3 separate regions of the Homo sapiens genome follow, and all the other regions are linked to region 3. The links are contacts of gene promoters, found by promoter capture Hi-C in blood cells and fetal thymus (Javierre and others, 2016). All regions are on one chromosome and are shown on one strand. The core of a region is centred on a gene start or on the middle of the fragment in contact, and the rest is flanking DNA. Distances in the headings are between cores, read along the strand shown. Region 1 overlaps FXR1 (FMR1 autosomal homolog 1). Region 2 overlaps DNAJC19 (DnaJ heat shock protein family (Hsp40) member C19). Region 3 holds the start of GNB4 (G protein subunit beta 4).

Evidence for each region. Contacts are between HindIII fragments. The CHiCAGO score rates a contact against its expected background, and 5 or more counts as called.
Region 1: a fragment that was not itself captured here is called in contact with the fragment with the promoter of GNB4 in region 3 in 1 of 17 cell types (monocytes); the score reaches 5.1 in monocytes.
Region 2: a fragment that was not itself captured here is called in contact with the fragment with the promoter of GNB4 in region 3 in 1 of 17 cell types (M2 macrophages); the score reaches 6.8 in M2 macrophages.

Annotation. Positions count from the first base shown.
Region 1 is chr3:180,960,783-180,964,529 of GRCh38, reverse strand. FXR1 (FMR1 autosomal homolog 1) reads right to left here. Exons shown (of 17, transcript NM_005087.4): 11 at 2,976-3,062; 12 at 1,590-1,647; 13 at 1,440-1,502. Among named protein-coding and RNA genes, the nearest start is that of DNAJC19, 27 kb to the left of the region's middle. The HindIII fragment of the contact is 4,850 bases long and covers 1-3,747 here.
Region 2 is chr3:180,982,770-180,986,509 of GRCh38, reverse strand. It overlaps DNAJC19 (DnaJ heat shock protein family (Hsp40) member C19), which reads left to right. Exons shown (of 6, transcript NM_145261.4): 5 at 514-584; 6 at 1,800-2,801. The coding sequence ends at 1,870. Among named protein-coding and RNA genes, the nearest start is that of DNAJC19, 5.1 kb to the left of the region's middle. The HindIII fragment of the contact is 1,140 bases long and covers 1,552-2,691 here.
Region 3 is chr3:179,450,147-179,454,163 of GRCh38, reverse strand. It overlaps GNB4 (G protein subunit beta 4), which reads left to right and starts at 2,694. Exons shown (of 10, transcript NM_021629.4): 1 at 2,694-2,818. It also overlaps the pseudogene RPL29P34. RefSeq lists silencers at 2,524-2,673, 2,714-3,123. The HindIII fragment of the contact is 16,902 bases long and covers 677-4,017 here.

The sequences.
Region 1 (3,747 bases), core at 807-3,306, 1.5 Mb before region 3:
CTAAGAGTGCCATCTACTGAACAATTTGCACAGCTTTCTTGAATCCAGATGTTTCTCTACCTCTCACATAATTATCTACTCTCAACAAAAGCATTTTGCCAGAGTAAGCTCTCATCAATAAGCCGACTTCCCACAAAAGCTAATAAAATTATTCAATGAATTCATCATACGCATCATCCAATAAGCCAAGTCTGATTATCTATGCTAATAATGTATGGTTCAAAAATCAATGAGAATATATTTGATTTCTATGTGATTACTGGTTAACTGTCTTTTGCATTAAACATTTTCAGAAATATAATAATAGTCTGCAATTTTCATCCCTTTATATGCTGAACACTTCTTTATTAGAATTTTGCTGTTTAGGTTTCAATACTGCATTAAATAAAAACATATATAAGAAAATGAGAACATAAAGATATGATATTAAAGGGCAGGGACACAAACTTACAACTCTACAACAAATTGAAGATAGTTCAGGTTTAATATAACTTTGTCAGCATTAGATGATCCTTCAATTAAAGCATGAAATTTGCATTTATTTCTATTTTCCTTAAATGCCTTACATTTTGGAAAAGGTTTTATATTTCCTCAAAAGGGAGTAAGTATAGGAGTGAAGAAAAGAAAAGGAAAAGAGAAAATAAAGAGAAGGGGCGAAGGAAAAAAACAAATCAGGTCACTGCTAAGATCCAAGTCCAAATGTAGAAAAATGGAACAACTCCAAAGCTGAAGAAGAATAAGGGAGAATTTAGGATTAGAGAATTGTTGACTATCACCACTCCACTGTCCCCCTTCCTATCTGGGTTAGACCCAATCCTCACAGTGAAATACATTTTAGAAAATGTTCATTTATAAAGTGTTAAATTAGATTCTGGCTTTCAGAGTCTTCATTTTAGTGAAATGTTGTTAAATAAAATAATTCCAGATGTGAGATGTTAATATATTCAAATACGCCAAATGAGTAAGTAAAATATTTTTTAAAAGCTAGTAAAAAGACTTGCTATATGCAATCTTGGCAGTGATTCGCACACTTTTCATTTTTTACTTAAAGAGGGTAGACAAAAGATGATTCCTAGAAGTATCACCACCACCATTACTAGGTATTTACTGGGAAATGTATAAAACTGTACTAGTAAAGTATTTGAAAAACAAGTTACATATGTATTCTTTGTAAATATAATAAACATGACAATGAACTACCAACTTAAAAACATGCTTTGCTTCATTACATAACTGCTTGGAAATTTTATATATTTTACTGTCATTTTAATGTATACTATCACTACTATTAAGACGTGTACTAAACCTTCAGAACTACCTTCTACCCTCAAAGCCAAGACAGAGTAATGAACTAATTATAAGAAAATGTGTTAGAGCACCTAAACTATAACTACTATTATTACTATTACCAAAAAAAAAAAAAAAAAATTTTTTTTTACCATAACCGGAGGTGTAATTAGGTCCCCGACGACCTCTGCCTCTTCCGCTATAAGACCTAGAACCTTGTACAGAAGAGACGGTACTTTCATCAGTGGCATATCCTTTCTCTTTTTCAGGCCCTCTGGTGGAAGAAGGTCTGAAACCCATACCAATCTGTCGCAGCTGTTCATCAATCTGTAGGCGTTCCATTCTTAGCTGTTCTACTTCCTACAATCAAAACAAAAAAGAGTAAGTCTTCTTATATATAACTTTTTGTTTTCCTAAAGCCTAAAGCTAAAGCTGTACTCCCTATCAAAGCTGTGACCTTAGGCAATTAGATGGTAAAGAGCATTGTGTTCCTAGTCAACAGAATTGATGAGGTCATTTGCTGTTTCTGTTCAACATTTACTGAATGGTCTAGAGTGTGCCAAACATGCTACTATAGGCATACAATATAAAAGAAGACATGGACTCTCCCCAATCAAGGGGATGTTTAACAGACAGCTTTAAAATAAGTTATTTATTAAATAGCTAACAATTATACAATATTACCAGATTTTGCCCTCAAGGAGTTAGAATTGCTGAATGAGATACAGGTAGCATCTATGAAAGGTACTATTAACAAGCTACTTTCCTATCAAAGCAGTGACACGAGTTGTGACCTAGAAGGAGTGCTAGACTTTGTCATTCAGAAATTGAGGTCATTACAGGATGCAAAGGTTAGATGTCTAGAGAAAGCTCTTGGTTAAAAGATGAGTACTGAAAGATAAAGCACTGGCTTCAAAATGCCAGCTTTAATTGCGACTTTTCATATAAAGATGAATTTCAAAAGAAAAGAAATGACATTATCAGAGTGATCTCAAAATAGTAACAGCAACAATGATACGACAGACTGGGAGGAAAACATACTAGAGGCAGAGAACAGGTGAGGATATTATTATACTTTAAAAAGAAACACAGCAGGAATAAAAGGGAAAGAGTAGAAAATAAAATTAAAATGTTTAATAATTTATGGGTCATATTTTTCTAAAAACCCTTGCTCTTTATGTATCAACTCAAATAGACTATTTTGTTAACAATGGTTACAAATTATCGAGTAATGTCAGTGGAGATGATGCAGATGATTTGCATAATGCCAAAGTTACCAAGGAAGCCCAATGTCACTCCTGGTTCTGTACCCTATTTGTATGTAAAGTACAAAAGTAAAAACAAAATGGCTCCAGTATGAACATGCAGATACATAAGTGATCTGAGAGTCAAATTGCATGAAGACAAAGGAATCATTTCTTAAGAAAGAAAGAAATATAAAAGCTCAGAAAGAAGAGAAATTATGCACACAAGGCCAATCATTTTATGATGACAAAGGACTTTTTAAATTCTCATGTAGAACAATGGCAAATCTGAAGCTGAATTAACAAAAAATATTTAAAGATTTGAAGTTTACTTCAAATATAAAATGTTTAATGTGAGGACATTTTAAATTTGTAGCAAATGTACAACATTTATGTAGTAAATGCAGCAACAATATCAGAATATAGTATGAACCGTATACAAACCTTTAGATAGGCAATATGATACTCTAGAAGAACCTGCACATTTCCAATGCTTTCTTTAGTGCCAACAAATACAAATGGAACCATACCCTGTTTAAAAAAAAAAAAAAGTATTCAGTGTTTAATATTTTAACAAAGTTCTAGCCTAAAAGTGACATGAAACTGACAGGCAGGCACACACACACACACCTTTTTTTTTTTTTTTTTTTTTTTTTTTTGAGATGACGTCTTGCTCTGTTGCCCAGGCTACAGTGCAGTGTTACAATCACAGCTCACTGCAGCATCAAACTCCTGGGCTCAAGTGATTCTCCTGTCTCAGCCTCCAGAGTAGCTGGGACTATAGATGCGTGTCACCACAACCAGCTATTACTTTTTATTTTTTGTAGAGACAGGGTCTTGCTCTGTTGCCCAACTCCTTGCCTCAAGCAATCCTCCTGCCTTGGCTTCCCAAAGCGCTGGGATTATTGACTTCGTAAAGAGGTTACAGGCGTGAGCCACTGTACCCAGCCCCAATATATAATTAGGAAAACTCTTCTGAAACACGCAGCAATTTACATGTACTAAACTTCAAGATTTAAGGAGAAAAAAATGCTAAAATCCATGTAAGTTGAAATACTCAGATTTTCAATAACTTGTCATATTTGCACCCCAATTTACTGTTGTAAATTGTCTTCTGTGTGCTAAACACTTTAAAAATAATTTTAAAAAATCAGTTTATATCAAGTTTTCTGATTTATAATTAATTTAATTTTCCAAGTATATAAATCAACTTTTA
Region 2 (3,740 bases), core at 872-3,371, 1.5 Mb before region 3:
AGGAGTTCAAGACCAGCCTGGCAAACATGGTGAAACCCCGTCTCTACTTAAAATACAAAAATTAGCCAGGCGTAATGGCACACACCTGTAATCCCAGCTACTCGGAAGGCTGAGGCAGGAGAATCGCTTGAACCCGGGAGGCCGAGGTTGCAGTGAACCAAGATCAAGCCACTGCACTCCAGCCTAGGGGACAGAGTGAGACTATCTCAAAAAAAAAAAAAAACAAAACTCTTCCTTCTTCATTTTCAAATCCTTAAACATGCGTTTCTTATCAATAAAAGGACTGTTGTAATGGGTACTGCAAGTTCAACACATTTTTGAGAGTGCCTTACTTTTCTAAGTAGTTTCCCAATTTAGGATACGCATTGGGTGTGTTGAGGTTTCTAAACAGCTTTTCATACTGTTGTGTTAATTTACTACAGTTTCACAGTGTCTTTAATTGGCCTTTATGTACAGTTTTTTGATGTGATGCAGAAGTAGGATGAAGTAAATACCATTTCTTTTTTTAATTAGCCCTACTGCCAATAAAGGGAAAATAAGAGATGCTCATCGACGAATTATGCTTTTAAATCATCCTGACAAAGGTAAGTAGTCATTAAATTCTCGTTGATGTTGTTGGTGTGACCAATAGTTATTAATGGGATAATTTTATCTCAAATTCCTGGCTATTAGAAAGGTAACACTTAAATCTGTAAGTCCTGTCTCCTAGGCTGGAGCCATATATTTTTGGTGTCTTAAAAGAAATTAAGTGAAAACTTTACTTACAGAATGAGCAGATGTAAGTGCTACTATTACTATGTTTTGTGGGTTTTTCTGGCCTACATTTATTATAATTAAAACGTTAAATTTCGTAAAACTAAAATGTAATTTTTCCTTATCCATTTTAGATACCTTGAAACGGAGATTACCTAGATAGAAACTTATGGGATTTATTTATTCGTTTGTGATAGACTTCTATGCAGCCTTGGCTGTGTTGAAGGAAAGCAAGAATTTCTTTGAATACCAAAAAATAGACCACAGAATTCATGTTCTAGTGTTTGTATCCTTTTACTTATACAGGAGAGGGCTTTCATTAATAAAAAGGGTTTTGACATTTTAAACAGGGTTATAATTGTTTGATATCTACTTCACAGTATCTTTTATGAAATTTAGCTTGTTTTATATGGAGGGCTTCTGACTCAGTAGGTCGGCAGTGGAGCCCCATAAATATGCATTTATACTAAATTTCCTGTTATTTCTTGCTGGTCTTAGGACCATACTTTGAGAATCACTCCTCCAGCAGATTCGTAGGAAAGCAGCTGTAGATGACATTGTGAAGGGACAGTAGATAACAGGAAAAGAAAAACTGGACAGAAAAAGGATGTAAAGCAAACTGGGATCTTTCCAGTAAACAGCTCAGAAGCCTCTGAGAATATCATGGTATTAAAATAACATGGTATAATTGATGTTCATTTATGACCTGTAATCATGAATAGGCTAACACCAGTTCAAAGGCATATACATATATATCTAATATATATGATAGAAATCCTATTTCTATCAGTTTAAGCTTTCTAAAAAGGTGTTATTTTTGTAGAAATATCTCCCACGTAAATTACTTCATTTCTCATTGGTCACATATATTACCATATATTTGGTCATCCAGTTGCAGTGTCAGGGTTATTTTTTAAAAATTAAAACACTGTTTCTGCTAAATCTCCCTCAGATAAGCATTGGAGTCCTTGAAACAAGAGTAGCTTTTTACCAAGCAGAAATTGAGAATCCATATTGTAACTGTTCTTTTTTCTTTCTTCCTATAGGAGGATCTCCTTATATAGCAGCCAAAATCAATGAAGCTAAAGATTTACTAGAAGGTCAAGCTAAAAAATGAAGTAAATGTATGATGAATTTTAAGTTCGTATTAGTTTATGTATATGAGTACTAAGTTTTTATAATAAAATGCCTCAGAGCTACAATTTTAAAAAATGATTTAGCACAAGCTAAATCTCAAAGCCTTGGTATAATTTTCTTGTTTAAATTTGGGGATTTTAAATCAGATTATAGTTTAGAATATTTGCGTATTAATTATGGGCAAGCACACACCTTCTGAATAGAAATATTGTTCATTACTCATTTAGCAGATAATTTGGGACCTATGTCTACTTTTCAAGGCAAAGTGAAGATGACAGTCCTTGCTCTCAGGGAGCCCCCACTTTAATGGGAGACTGATAAACTGGTAATTAGACTGTGATAAATAGTATGATGGAAATTAGCTTAAGCTGTTTAAGTAGGGACTCTTCTTATTCGGTGGAAAGGCTGTTCCAGGTACAGGCAACTGGCCTGGCAACTTGGATACTTGGAACCTTGTATTTAAAAGTGAATTTAACCACAACTGAGACCTAAGAAATTGACCTAGGGGTGTGTGTGTGTGTGTATTCTATGTACATATAAACCATTTTTATTTCATGCATTAAAAATAGTATGATAAAGATTTCAGAGTACAGGTCTGGTACAATCACAGTTCATTGCAGCCTCAACCTCCTGGGTTTAAGCAGTCCTCCCGCCTCAGCCTCCCAAAGTACTGGGATTACAGGCATGAGTATTTACATTGTATTCAGCTAGCCCCTTAAAGGTAATGACCATTTATAAATTATTCCTTCAGTTGGCTATTTCTTGACATAATCAAACTTCTGCAATTGTTATGATTAAGCTTAAACCCTGTTAGCAAAACTGAAAACTGAAATGTTCTCAATATCAACATATTTAATTTGGACTCTTTAGAATTTATACACTAATAAATTTAAATGATGTTTAAAGGCAAATTACTTACTGTTTGTCTAACATAAAATATATAAGGATCTTAAGAGGACCTGTATAAAACATCTGGTATAAACTAGTATGTATTTCTCAACAGGAGTATTTCTTATGTGTAGCTCTAAGATGATAAATTATACTACCTACCGTCTAAACTTCCTTAAGTCATCATAAGTTTCTTAATTATTGGAGGATACAAGGACTTTTGAGGTTAAAAAAATAGTGGAGGTAATATTTATCTGCCTTATAAAGTAAAGGTATATCTGCTCTTTGTGTTTTCTATCCAATACCCTCGTTTAAAATCTGATGGAGTCTGTTATGATTTAGTGTATGATGAAACACTAGCTTCTAAGGCTTTTATGCAGGATAAATTATTTCCAGGGACAAGGAGACATGAAAGTACAGCTGGTTCTTGTTTGTGGTAATTCTGTTCTTTAAGGTGGCTATGAACACTGAATTAGCAAATAAGGAACAAGTTCCTAAGAGAAATACAGATTCTGTGACCCTTTGGTCACAATATTGTCTGCCAGTCAGTATATAACCTTGATCGACCTGTTTCTGCTTGAAAACATTCTTTAGTATTTCATTAACTTTCAATTAACAGCCAACAGCACTATAACTAACTCATGCTTGGGACATCACGGCCTTCTTTGCATTTGGGAACACTAGGTAGCATGCTTCACTACTACTCTTAGGAACCATCTTAAAACAGCAAAATCACCAACAAAAAGCACAAACATGAAACTTGGCACTAAATAGACCACAAAAAGGATATCTGTTTATGGTGTGAGAGCTTAAACAAGGTAGAGCATTGCCTTGTGCACATAAAGTGGTTTAAATTTTTTGTCACTCTGCAAATACTCACAAATGACCAGAAAAGGATGTTGATTTTGGAGTTACAAATTTTAGTGAGTAGGCAAATTCACAGATAAGGAATTCTACTAATA
Region 3 (4,017 bases), core at 1,445-3,944:
ACCCAAACAAAAGATCATGGGGCTTAATCCTCAGAAGTAGGATACATCTCTACAATTGTCTACACAAACCAGCAGGCATCAGAAATGTTAATAGCATACCCCTTCACCTTTCTCTCTGCCTCCCTTCCCAGTCTCTCTCTTTTGTTCTTCGTGGATTTCATTATCATTGGAAAAATCATGAATTGCTGGATCACTTAGATGCATTAGTGTGCTCTTATGAAATCATTCCTGATGACAAAATTCTTTTAATCAGCTCCACTTTCAGATTTTCAGTATAGGCTTGTCCTTTAACAAGTAAGTTTTTTTTTTTTTTTCCAGAACAATATGGAGCAGGTATGGCAAAACAGAAATACAATATTCTTGGAAGTAGATTCGTTTGGATAATAATTAAACTTTCCTTTTTCTGTACTTGGACTTTATTCTTCTAGTAATTTCTTTGTCTACATTAAATTTTCAGGAAGATTGACGATATCATTCTTTTAAACTCTTTAAAAGACAGTCAAATTCTTGTTACATCTTTTCAGGTTTTGTATTTTATGTTTAGGAGCTGTTCATTTATATTTCCCCTCATCTTTTCTGGAATAGACTATCTCATTGCTTCCCACTGTGTTTTCCTAAATACCAGCAACTTGTTTTTCAACAAATAATCTTAACCCAACAACCAGCTCTCAAAGCTTTATAACATCTGGTAAATGCTAGTGCACAGGAACAAGGCAGAAAAGAATCTAAAGAAAGAATATGGGGCCGGGATCGGTGGCTCACGCCTGTAATTCCAGCACTTTGGGAGGCCGAGGTGGGCGGATCACCTGAGGTCAGCAGATTGAGACCAGCCTGGTCAACACGGTGAAACCCCGTGTCTACTAAAAATACAAAAAATCAGCCGGGCGTGGTGGCTTGTGCCTGTAATCCCAGACTTGGGAGGCTGAGACACGAGAATCGCTTGAATCCTGGAGGTGGAGGTTGCAGTGAGCTGACATCACATCACTGCACAGTGACTCCGTCTCAAAACAAAAAAACAAACAAAAAAAAGAAAGAATGTGGGCTTTGGAGTTGATCCAATCTGATGTCATGCAGGGCTCTACCAATACCTTCGTGACTCCGATAAATTAATCTTACCAGGGCATCAGTTTGCTTATCTGTAAAATGGGGATAAAATTCACACTTCAAGGTAATTATGAGGATTAAGTACAGTATAAGAAAGCAGAGAGCATGGTCCGTAATAGGCACTCTTTAACAATTTCCCTTTGCTTCCTCCGAAAAACGACAATCATAAAACTCAGGATTTAATCATTAAAACATAAATAGTTACAGATGCAAAACACTCATGTCCCAACGAGCTCTTCTGACACTTTGATATGCAGAATATTTGGCATTTCTTTCTTCTTAATGGAAAAATGCTCCTAATATTAGTAAAAATGAAAATTTTGGGGGAAAAATTATCCACAGTTTCTTTATCTGTGGATAAAGAAAATAGAAACAGCTGCTTCTATTTTTGTCACGGCCTGGCTTTTATACAAAACGGTCACATTTTCCCCACAGTCACAAACAGGGTGTGTTTATCATGGCATCACCTCTTTCAAGGGACTAATAGATTTATTCCAGGTGATAGTGGGAAGCAGCTACAGAAGGAGGATTGGAAGGCTGAGGGGTTGTTAAAGTTATCTGATGATATTGTTCGAACATTTCTCCGGCACAGAAACTCCACAAAGAACTCCTCTGCAGTTTTCGCTACCCAGGGCTGTTTCTTTAAATTGTTTGACGTCAGAGAAGGAATGCTATAGCAACAGTCTGTCAAACTGGAATTAACTCAGAAGAAAAATGGGGGTGGGGAGAGGAAAAATGCTCCCAGGCGGTACTGACTTCAGAGGAAGCAAATTGGATAGATGCATTTATTTTATGACATTTTAAACATAAAACACCCAGATAAATGTGAAAAAAAAAAAAACTCGATTGAGATGCATGTGGTGTTTAACTCATGCAGAGAAGAGCGACTTGGCAGGGATATCTGGAAGGCCTTCCAGTTTTATCAATGACAATAGGAACAATAACTTCCAAGTATTGGCCATTTATTTGGAGGCAGGCTTCGTGCAAACATCACTTCATTTAATATGCTTAGCACCTTTATGAGGCAGGTATCAGTATCTTTATTTTGGCGATGACGAAACTTAGGCCCGAGACGGTACACGGTCCTACAACTAGTGATGGAAGAGCGGGGACTGCAACGCAAGGTTGTGCAACTCTGGGCTTCAGTTTACTTTCTGACATTTAGAATTCCAGAATGGGAAACCTAAATGGGGCCTTTGGGGTCTTCTAGCTCTGCCCTTCGATCCTGCTAACAAGCAAACTGGCGCCTGTCAGCGCCGGAAAGGAAACTGGCCACGCCACTTAGACGGGCGCTACTTAGCAGCGTGCCCCGGCGCCACACCAACAAGAAAACGAAACTGCCCGGGAATGAATGTTTTTCTTCTCCTTCTGGCAGGAAACGAGAGAGAAAATAGGAAGCAGAAGCTGCGCGCGGCGCCCGCTCCCTTCGCCCCCCGCCCGGGCTGCGCGCGCTCCGAGGGTCTGCGCGTCCCCGGCACGTCCCCGCCGGGCCCGCGCGCCTCGTGCCTCGCGCCTCGCGCCTCCAGCCACGTCCCCGCCCCGGCTCCGGCGCGCCGCGGAGTTGGCTGCTGGGAGGTGCGGGACTGGGTGTGGCCGGCGGCTCTGGTCTCGGCTGTGAGCTGCGCTCTCCACGCCGGCTCCGCGCTCCAGGGGCTGCTGAGCGCCCAGCGGACACCGGCAGCGCGCGGTCGACGCGGGCCTGAGCTCCCTCCAGGTAGGCGGCGAGCTCGCGAGCGGCGGCTCGTCGGTGCGCCCCGCGAAGCGATCCCGGGCTTCTCGCAGGGACGTGGGGCGCCGCGAGCCACCCCTGCGGAACGGGGCCCGGGTGACGGCGCGGGGCGGGGCGGGTCTCCCCGGGCTCGGGCGGCCGACGCTGCCCGGGAGGGACGAGGAGGGCGCGCCTGTGTCGCGCCCAGCTGCCACGCGGGAACTGGCCCCACGACCGCCGGCGCAGGCACTTCCCGGGCGGTCCAGACCGCTCGCCCCGGGGAGCGAGGAACGGTCGGCGGTCCAAGTCCTGCAGACCCCCCTGGTTTCTCGTCACTCCCCGAGGCCTCCTTCCAGGAACTCAGAGCACGAGCCCGTGCGTGCCCCCAAAATAACGGGTATTCGGGACTGCCCAGCAGGGCTGTTGGGTGGAGAGTGCTTGGAAGACTCATAAAAGTTCTACGCTGAGTCCAAAATTAGTCCAATGGTTTTGTTTCAGATTTATTTTGGAAATGATATAATGTCCAGAGTTTGGGGATGGGAGGGGATTGATGAATTTTGAATACTTGTGAGTTCAGTACAATAAAAAGTGTTTTGCTTTTCTCTCCACCTTTTTCTGCTTCAGAACACAGATGATTGCCATATACTTTGATATGTATTGCTATTCGCTAAGGGAACGTTGAATTTTCAAAAGTTTGAAACCAGGCTTTCATTTGTTTATACAAGCAATACTTTGTTATTTTTCGTCTCCTTGTGTTCCCTTTTCTCCCACTCCTTCCCTTTCTCTTTCCATAAAGGATAAGGATGCATCTTTCTCCCTCTCAGCCACCGACAAAGTAGCTTGGCGTGTGGCTTAGCGGGAAGTTTTCTTAAAACGTTCAAAATTTAATTGTTGATTAGAACTTTTATTATGAGTCCGTCTCAGTGTTGCAAACAGAGTTTATGACCATTAAGTACATCTTCTAGGACAGAGACAGAACACACGCTACTTAATTTAAGATGGGAGGGAAGTTATTTCTAGTCGGAGAGGAGGACGGCTGATTAGGTGCATTCAAAATTGTGTGCTTCGAGTCTCTGCCATTGTTCATTTTAATACTCTTCAGTTTGGGGCTTTTGGTTTACTACTGATCCTAGGCTCTGAAAATTTACTGTATATTTCAGTATGTGGCTTAAAGACATTTTAAGATTTTCCATGTTGCATTTTGG